Linked DNA regions of Homo sapiens: all the other regions are linked to region 2. Evidence: promoter capture Hi-C in 16 types of primary human blood cells and fetal thymus (Javierre and others, 2016). All regions are on one chromosome and are shown on one strand. Each heading gives the region's core, a stretch centred on a gene start or on the middle of the fragment in contact. The rest is flanking DNA. Distances are from core to core; before and after follow the strand shown.

Evidence for each region. Contacts are between HindIII fragments. The CHiCAGO score rates a contact against its expected background, and 5 or more counts as called.
Region 1: a contact is called between a fragment that was not itself captured here and the fragment with the promoter of CCNL1 in region 2, in 4 of 17 cell types (M0 macrophages, M2 macrophages, monocytes and 1 more). The highest score is 7.1, in M0 macrophages.
Region 3: a fragment that was not itself captured here is called in contact with the fragment with the promoter of CCNL1 in region 2 in 7 of 17 cell types (naive CD8 T cells, M2 macrophages, total CD8 T cells and 4 more); the score reaches 8.8 in naive CD8 T cells.

Annotation. Positions count from the first base shown.
Region 1 is chr3:157,440,167-157,443,320 of GRCh38, reverse strand. All of the region lies in intron 4 of VEPH1 (ventricular zone expressed PH domain containing 1), which reads left to right. PTX3 (pentraxin 3) reads right to left here. Exons shown (of 3, transcript NM_002852.4): 3 at 1-955. The coding sequence ends at 342. Among named protein-coding and RNA genes, the nearest start is that of PTX3, 4.9 kb to the right of the region's middle. The HindIII fragment of the contact is 806 bases long and covers 1,098-1,903 here.
Region 2 is chr3:157,157,989-157,161,397 of GRCh38, reverse strand. It overlaps CCNL1 (cyclin L1), which reads left to right and starts at 1,251. Exons shown (of 11, transcript NM_020307.4): 1 at 1,251-1,606; 2 at 1,919-1,993; 3 at 2,423-2,532. The coding sequence starts at 1,304. RefSeq lists enhancers at 390-449, 470-519, 607-1,336, 1,970-2,039 and a silencer at 1,620-1,829. The HindIII fragment of the contact is 11,903 bases long and covers 1-3,409 here.
Region 3 is chr3:156,697,216-156,700,494 of GRCh38, reverse strand. All of the region lies in intron 4 of TIPARP (TCDD inducible poly(ADP-ribose) polymerase), which reads right to left. Among named protein-coding and RNA genes, the nearest start is that of TIPARP-AS1, 23 kb to the right of the region's middle. The HindIII fragment of the contact is 2,761 bases long and covers 1-2,630 here.

The DNA.
Region 1 (3,154 bases), core at 251-2,750, 280 kb before region 2:
GGCCAAAACAAAATTAACCAAAGAAAAGTAAAACAATTGTCCCTCTGTTCAACAATACAGTCCTTTTTAATTATTTGAGAGTTTATCTGACAGAGACACAGCATTAAACTGAAAGCACCATGGCATAAAGTCTAGTAACATTATCCTCAAAAGCTTTTTCCAATGTCTTTCCTTCAACTGTTTATTCAGTATTTGGCCAGTACAAATAAAGATTGGTCTCAACTCTCTCTTTCATTAGTCTCAAGTGTTCCTATTATGCACTGAGTTTTCAGACCTTCCCAACTGGCATGTGTTTTAAGTGTGAGTTTCTTTCTTTGGCTTCAAGTGGAGTTTCACAACATTTATGAAACATACTGAGCTCCTCCATGTGGCTGGATCTCTGTGACTCCCCACCCAACAATATTCCCCCGGATGTGACAAGACTCTGCTCCTCCGGTCTCTCTTATCTCTTCATTGCTAAGAACACTATCCCAGATATTGAAGCCTGTGAGTCTCCCAGAGAAGGCTAATGTTTCATCAAAGCCACCACCCACACAGCAGCCATTCTTTTCTTGGCCAATCTGCAGGATTCCTCCCTCAGGAACAATGTGACCTGTGGCCATCTCAACAGTGGTAGCCGCCAGTTCACCATTTACCCACAAGGATGTGAGCCCTTCCTCTGAATTCCAGGTGCCGCACAGGTGGGTCCACCTTCCCAGGGAAACCATGGCTTCAGCAACCAGTTTGTTCTCCTCTCCACCCACCACAAACACTATGGATTGGTAGCTGAGATACAGCTGGATTTCATATGGATTCCTCTTTGTGCCATAGGAAAACAGGATGGTTTTGTTTAATACATCTGTGGCTTTGACCCAAATGCAGGCACTAAAAGACTCAAGCCTCATTGGTCTCACTGGATGCACGCTTCCAAAAATCTTCTTGGAACGCATTGGGAATAAAATAGCTGTTTCACAACCTAGAGTAGCAAGAAAATAAGAAGAATATTAAAGAAAATATAAATTAATTCAGAATTATTCTGGCATTAGTTATTTAACATAAGAATTTTAATTATTACAATTGAAAGCTATGTGAAACCCTACATTACGACTTAAGAAGCTTCCACTGTAATCTCTGCAGAGCAAAGAAAATGAGAAAAAGGAAAGCCAATTGTCTTATCCAATGAAGCATCTAAATGAAGAGAAAGCACGCAAATAGAAGAGCCAACTAGTCCAAACCCACAAAATAATAAAAGCCATAACTACCTCCCCTTCCAATTTGCATATTTTCTTTGTTACTGCTTTTTTTTAAAAAAGTTGAATCACTATCAGTTAACTTCAGACAATAATTCTATAATTTCCAAGAATTCAGAACCCAACCTGGTTCTCTCTTTTTGCCACCACCAAGTTCCTAAAATAATAAACCTGTGAAATTCAGTAGACCTAGTTCGCTCCATTTAGCCTTTACCAACATGCATTTTTCAGCAAAATTCTAGGATAGTGATGTTATTGCAGAATACATTTTTTTTTTTTTTTGAGACAGAGTCTCACTCTGTCACCCAGGCTGGATTGCAGTAGTGCGATCTCGACTCACGGCAACCTTCGCTTCCCAGGTTCAAGCGATTCTCCTGCCTCAGCTTCCGGAGTAGCTGGGACTACAGGTGCACACCACTGCGCCCAGCTAACTATTGTATTTTTTTTTTAGACACGGGGTTTCACCATGTTGGCCAGGTTGGTCTTGAACTCCTGACCTCAAGATCCGCCTGCCTCAGCCTCCCAAAATGCTGGGATTACAGGCATGAGCCACCACACCTGGCCTGCAGAATACATTTTAATACACCAAATGTTCTCAGATATTTGTAAACTTTGCAGAGTTTTTAGAAAACTACCTTTGAAAGGCAACAATGTATAATAATGATGACTAAGCTTATTGGGCATTCACTATGTATCAGATACTGTTCTAATCATTTTGTTTGTCATTTTAATCCTTATGCCAACCATAAGAGATAGTCTTTTACATTCCTATTTTACAGATGAGAAAACTTAGGTAAAAGTAACTTATCTATGTTTACATAGCTGATAAGCAGTAAAACTAGAGTTTGAATTTTTGCAGTCTGGTCACAGAGGCCACGCCCTTAATCAGCACACTACAGTGCCTCTTATTAATAGAACCCCTAGATTTCTCTAGGAGGGCTAGAATCCAGATGGTGTTACTACTAATGAGCCATGCAACTTTGGATGAGCACCATAATTTCCTCTAGGCTTTAGCGTTATCTAAAAAAGGCCCTTCCATTCTGCTCCTAATATTCTGCAAGTCTGTAAGCAGCAAGTATGTAGCACTTAAGAGCTGAATAGACCAAAAATGTGTTTAAAAATTCTACCTTGTCCACATGCTTATAATTACTATTTAAGCAGTAATTGAAAATCTTTAAGAGAAGTACATTCTTTCAAGGGGCCTGGTTGGAGAACATGTTTCTGCTAAAGAGCACTTGGGAGGGGGACTTTCAAATTTGAGGTGGAAAGCTCAGTAAGTTTCCACCATTGTCCATCTCAAGGCGACTTAGCCATTTGGGAAGCTGGAGATGCTGAAACGAAAACCTTTTACGTGTCCCTGGGAAAGAACAGGTGAGCTCTGCATCTATATACATAAATATATATATATGTATGTATACGTATATATACACACATATATACATATGGATATGTATGTATGTATACATACATATATGTATATAAATGTGTGTGTATATATATGTGTGTATGTGTATGTAGGTATTTTTTTAAAAACACCTAAATTAGGGCAGGTATAACAACCTAAAGAAGATATGCCATAAGACAGCTTTGAAAAGCAAACTCCCAGAATGGTTCCAGAATAACTGGTAAAGAGAAAGAACTTGCAGAAACCAAACATCCATGTAAAAGTGTGGTAAACTATGTCAGATTCCTACAAGTGGCTCAGGGGTAGGCTCTATCCTGAAAACATTAAACAAATATGAACCTTATCCTTTAGTGTTAGGGATAGTCAAATAAAATATTGGCATTCAGATAATCATATAAAAGTAACTACAATACTAAAACACAAAACTGGCTCTGTCATGCTTTGATACTTTTTCACTAAATAATTTGAACTTTTGAAGATTTTTTAAAATTAATTTTTAATGAGGCAGTGATTCTATTTT
Region 2 (3,409 bases), core at 2-2,501:
CAATGAATGGACAGAAATTAGTAAATAATTTTCTTTTGAGTAATCTTGTGAAAAAGTCCCTCCAGGAATGGCTGCATTTCTGAGTCTTTTTGAAATAGGATACGAGATTTCAGCGAGGGGAGGAATGCGATTGATTCTTCTACAAAGAGGCTTCTCTAGTCAGGAAAGGAAATTTCAGAGAGTACCTCCCTGCACTTGGGAAAAGTGGGAGCAACAAGTCAAGGTTGGGGGACCTGCATTATGAGGCAGCTTCTAAAGCCTCTGTCTTTGGGGTATCGCTTTCTGAGCGTCAAGAGTAAAACGTGATGCATTCCTTTCCTTCCAACCTAGATTCTAGTAGTTTAGATCAGTATCATTGTTTTTACTTCAAGGTTCAGGAAACGCTGGAAATTGCTAGCTAATATCACAGGAAAAAAAACAAAAAACACGAGGTTGACCTCACCCTACCCGCGGTAGGTAACCATGTATGAATAGAGACTCCCAGGCATAATCAAATTACCTCTGTCAAGTCCTCGCCCTAAGACTATTTTTGGAAACTAGGGATTTTCCAGATTACTGAAAGCCGTGGCGGTGTCAAAGGCCGGGCAGGAGTTTCGCAAGCGGAGCTATGAAAGCAGCCACTCTCGCGGTCATTCCTATGCCTCCGCCCTACTTCCCCATACTGGCAAAAACACGCTCCCCGGGGAGCTTTCATTTGGGAACCGATAGGGTCCACAGCCCTGTGTTCTTCAAATACTGTAAAGCAGCCCTCTCCAGATTCCTTGAGGGTCACTTTATATTACACATTCGTCCACACAGGACAACAAAGTCACCACTTCCACCCGCCAAAGCGCGCTCAGGTCGGCCGCCACTTCCCTTGGTACACGCGGAACGCAAGCCGCGCCGAGGCTAAAGGAAGAGGCCGGAATGCAGGGCGAAGGGGCGCAGAGATGCTAGCCAATGCTGCCACCTCTATTTTGGGTATAAGGGATCTTGTAAAGCTCCGTTATTCGTGTGGCTATCACAAACAAGGTGGTTTCGACCGGCCTTGGCTAGAGAAGGCCTCCTCAGCCTCTGAGGATCCCAAGGTCTGTCGCAGCACCCAACACTCCCCTCGCAGGCCCAGATGCCGAGGGCGGAGGCGCGGCCTGGAGGGACTAGTTGGCGCGCGGCTGCCCGGCGTGGTGACGTCAGGGCGGAAGCGCACGCGGCGTGAAGCGGCCCAGAACCCGGCGGTCACGGGAATATCCGTCGCGCCGAGAACGCTGGTTAGTCTTGTTTCGGGTTCCGGCTGCGTTGGGCTTGCGTGCGGCTCGCTAAGACTATGGCGTCCGGGCCTCATTCGACAGCTACTGCTGCCGCAGCCGCCTCATCGGCCGCCCCAAGCGCGGGCGGCTCCAGCTCCGGGACGACGACCACGACGACGACCACGACGGGAGGGATCCTGATCGGCGATCGCCTGTACTCGGAAGTTTCACTTACCATCGACCACTCTCTGATTCCGGAGGAGAGGCTCTCGCCCACCCCATCCATGCAGGATGGGCTCGACCTGCCCAGTGAGACGGACTTACGCATCCTGGGCTGCGAGCTCATCCAGGCCGCCGGCATTCTCCTCCGGCTGCCGCAGGTCAGTGCTCCGGCCCCGGGCCGGCCGGGCGCTCCTCTCCTCTCCTCCGTCCCCTACGCCGCATCTCAGTATCACCGTGCCCCGGGAGGGTGGGGACGGTTCCTTCAGGCTTTCCCGTTCGGGGCCCAGCCGCGGCCGGGGCGTGCCGGGGCGGGGGGCTGCGGAGGCGGAGGGAGGACTTGGCAGCGGGCTGTTCGCAGCGGCGGCGGCGGCGGGAGGGGAAAGGGAAGCGATCGGCGGCACAAAATGGCGGCGGCGCCTGGAGCGGGCCCGCCTGACCCCTGCGCTTCCGTTCTCCTCTCTTGTCTGCAGGTGGCGATGGCAACGGGGCAGGTGTTGTTTCATCGTTTTTTCTACTCCAAATCTTTCGTCAAACACAGTTTCGAGGTAAGCACAGCGGAGGCGGGTAAAAGGGATTTCTTCATCCGGAAATGGGCAGAGTAGGGGTAGTGTCAGCAGCCAGCTTTTCCAGAAAGGGAGTGGTTTAGTTTAGGCCTTTGTACCTACTTCTCACTCGCCAGGAAGTGGAAACCTTTAGAATGTGGTTCAAAATCGATCACGAGCCTAAGTGCCCTCTTAACGAAAAGTACAGTTTTCAACCAAATGCAGAACTCCTGTAAGATTGAGTTTGACTCTGGAACCAAAATTAAGATGAGTTAAACAACAAAAAGTATAGTACTAGCATAGCTGGTAGACTTACGGCATAGAGATGTCTTCTCTAATTTTACTAAAGGTTGTCCCAATTGTGTTCTAAATTTTATTCTTCAAAGTGAGTTTAATCTAACAATGGCTTTTGTGGCTCATGGGTTCTTTCAGATTGTTGCTATGGCTTGTATTAATCTTGCATCAAAAATCGAAGAAGCACCTAGAAGAATAAGAGATGTGATTAATGTATTCCACCACCTCCGCCAGTTAAGAGGAAAAAGGTAAGATTGGCATTATTGAACATAGTATCTCTTGCTACTGCTGTACCGTGCACCAGTCATCAAATCAAAACATCTTTCCTTTCAAGTGAATACGGATGCAAAAGAAAACGGACTTTAATTTAGGTGTTAAAGTTCATATAGGAACACTGATACTTAAAATAATTTGAAAAAAGAAACATAATTAACCGGTTATCTAAAGTTTGTAGAGGCAGTTGCATTTATGGACAATCCTAACAGTGCTGTGAAGCCAGGCCTGTGGCTTAAGATTAAACAAGAAAGGGAGTACATTTGGCTCAAGTGTGAGTGTATTCTGTAAGTTATTTTTCCTCTCCCCTCTCTGGAAGACTGAAGGCTGGAAGTTTAAACACTGTAGTTTAAGTTAATATTGTGGCAAAGTTCTGTGTAGATTATGTTTTTCTACTCGAAGTCCCAGTTAATTCTTTATCAATTGAGGTTGGCTTTTGTTAGAGTACTTCTCAACATTGAACTACGATAAATCGAATAATACCGGATCTGAAAGGACTGCAGGATGATAAAGTTTGAAGTTTGAAGTCAAAGGGATTAAACAGGTATTTTGTTTTGGTTAGATACAGTCTCAGTGAGTGGGTTAGAAAATTAACAAGTAAGATTGATTGGGTTGCATTTAGATAGGGCCATTTATTTGATGTTGTAAGAAAATACAGAGACTGAAATAGTATCTCCTAGGTGTTGTGGTAACATAATTTTATGTGGACCTATGTGTTCCTGTGAGGCAGTACCAAAAAGTTTGTTGCAGGACTTCCTGCATCTACAGGTGACTTCCAGTACATGCTGCAGAATGATATATTTGGTGTAGAATAGTTTTTGCATTCACTCTTTAAGGAATTGTAGTGATGTT
Region 3 (3,279 bases), core at 1-2,500, 460 kb after region 2:
ACTCTTAGGCATCTGATTCCCTGAGAATTGTGGCCTCTTTAACACCTATTTTTTTTTTATCCTTTGCATTTAATAACACTTAAAAACAAAACATCATGCCTGTAATCCCAGCTACTTGGGAGGCTGAGGCAGGAGGACTGCTTGAGGACAGGAGTTCAAGACCAGCCCCAGCAACATAGTGAGACCTTGTCTCTACACCAAAGAAAAAAAAAGAAAACATTAGCTGGGGATGGCAGCATCCACCTGTAAGTCCCAGCTACTTGGGAGGCTAAAGCAGGAGGATCACTTGAACCCAGGAGTGCGAGGTTACAGTGAGCTATGATGATCATACCACTGCACTCCACCCTGGGCGACAGAGGAAATTCTGTCTCTAAAAAAGTTTTAAAAAATATAAAAAATAAAAAATAAAAAAATAAAAAAGTTTTAAAAATTTAACAAAACAAAAACCACTTAAAAAGAAACATTTTCCCTGGCTAAGATCATAGCCTCTGGAATCTACTTCTAAAATATGCTTTTTGGAACCAATTCCCCTCATCTTTCTCCCTACTAGGTCCTTCAGCCCCACACTCTAGGGTAGATAGGATCACTGCATTTACCCATCCCACCCTGGTGGACTGGCTATTTCTCTGCTCTTTTCTCACTGAAGTTTAATATTTCTTTGATTTGCTGATCTCTTACTTTATACCTGATTATCAGTTTTAGACAGAAAGATTAAAATAGAAAATTTTTAAAAGAAAAAGGAAAATAAAGAGTAACTATTTTTGTTCTCTTGTAAGCCCATATTATCAATATATGACTACCTAGTAGATATTGAGCATTCTATTCCAGACCACTGCAATAAAGCAAATATCACAATAAAGTGAGTAATACAATTTTTTAGTATCCCAGTGCATATAAAAGTTATGTTTATACTATACCATAGTCTATTCAGTACATAATAGCATTCATTCTTTAAAAAAACAATATTTATACCTTAATTTAAAAATACTTCATTGCTAAAAAACACTAACAATCATCTGAGCCTTTGGTGAGTCATAGTAATTTTACTGGTGGGAGGGTTTTGCCTTGATGATGGCCTGACTGATCAGGGTGGTGATTGCTGAAGGTTGAGGTGGCAGTGGCAATTTATTAAAATAAGACAATGAAATTTGCCACATTAATTGACCCTTCCTTTCATGAAAGATTTCTGTTGCATGCAGTACCATCTGAAAGCATTTTACCCGCAGAACTTCTTTCAAAGTTGCAGTCAATCCTCCCAAACCTTGCTGTTGCTTTATCAACTAAGTTGATGTAATATTCCAAACCCTTTATTATTTCAAAAATCTTTACAGCATCTTCACCAGTAGATTCCATCTCAAGAAACCACTTTCTCTACTCATCCAAAAGAAGCAACTCCTCATGCATCCAAGTTTTATCATGAGATAGTAGCAATTCAGTCACATCTTCAGGCTACACTTCTACTTCTACCTCTCTTGCTATTGCCACCACATCTGCAGTGACTTCCTCCACTGAAGTCTTTAACCCTTCAAAATCATCCATGTGGGCTGAAATAAACTTCTTCCAAATTTCTGTTAATGTTGGTATGTTAACCCCCTCCCATGAATCACGATGTTCTTAATGGCATCTAAAATGGTAAATCCTTCCCAAAAGTTTTCCAATTTACTTTGCCCAGATCCATTAAAGGAACCACTATGTATGGCAGCTATAGCCTTACAAAATATACTGTTAAAATAGGAGGTCTTGAAAGTCAGAATGACTACTTGATAAGTGGGCTGCAGAATGGATGTTGTATAGCAGGCATGAAAACACTAATCTGTACATCTCCATTAGAGCTCTTGGGTAACCAGGTGCATTGTCAATGAGCAGTAATAGTTTGAAATAAGTCTTTTTTTCTTGAGCAGGTCTCAATAGTGGGCTTAAAATATTCAGTAAACCATGCTATAAACAGATGTGCTGTCATCCACACTTTTTCCATTTATAGAGCACAGGCAGAGTAGATTTAGCACAATTTTCAAGGGCCCTAGGCTTCAACTTAAAGTCACCAGTTGCATTAGCCCTTGACAAGATAGCCCTGTCCTTTAAAGCCAAGCATCAACTTCTCTCTACCTATGAAGTCCTAGATGGCATCTTCTTCTAATATAAGTTTGTTTTGTCTACACTGAAAATCTCTTGTTTAGTTTAGCCACTGTCATCAATGATCTCAGCTAGATTTCTGGATAACTTGCTACAGCTTCTACATCAACACTCCCTGCTTCACCTTGCACTTCTATAAGAGAGATGGGCTCTTAAACCTCATGAACCAACCTCTGTTAGGTTTAAACTTTCTTCTGCAGCTTCCTCACCTCTCTCGGCCTTGAAAGAACTGAAAAAAGTTAGGGCCTTGCTCCGGATTAGGCTTTGGCTTAAGGGAATGTTGTAGCTGGTTTGATCTTTTATCCAGATCACTAAAACTTTCTCTATATTAGCAAGAAGGCTGTTTTACTTTCTTATAATTCGTGTGCTTACCAGAGTAGCACTTTTAATTTCCTTCAAGAACTTTTCCTTTGTATTCACAACTTGGCTAATGTTAAGGCACAAGAGGCCTAGCTTTTGGCTTATCTCAGCTTTCAACATGCCTTCCCCACTAAGCTTAATCATTTCTGGCTTTTGACTTAGAGATGTGTAACTCTTCCTTTCACTTGAACACTCTGCCGTCTTATGTGGGTGCTGTTCTTGGCACCCCAAAACAAATGTAACATAAAGATCACCGGTCAGATCACCATAACAGATACAATAATAATGAAACACCTGAAATATCCGAAGAATACCCGAAATATGATTCAGAGACACAAAATGAGCGCATGCTGTTGAAAATACAGCACTAATAGATTTGGCTTGACCTAGTGCTGCCACAGACCTTCAATTTGTAAAAAACACAATTATCTGTGAAGTACAATAAAGCAAAGCACCATAAAACAAGATATGCCTGTATAATGAAGGCATATTTGTGGCATTAATTGTATTGCTGCTTATATTATCTTTATAGTTCATACTTTTACAAAACAAGCCTAAGCTTCAAAAAAAAAAAAAAAAGAGGGCATATTCCATAATTACTTATCATGAGATAAAAACAGACGCATTTTCACCATTCACCGAAACTTTCCAACAATGCAGAACTTGCATTCTTACCCTCACACAGAAGTTCTATCTTGCTTGATTGGCTCAGCATGCCAAGCTGCTGGTCTCACTAATGGGTTCTACTATCTCACCAGGAGGACAATATATTCCTAACTACTGGAC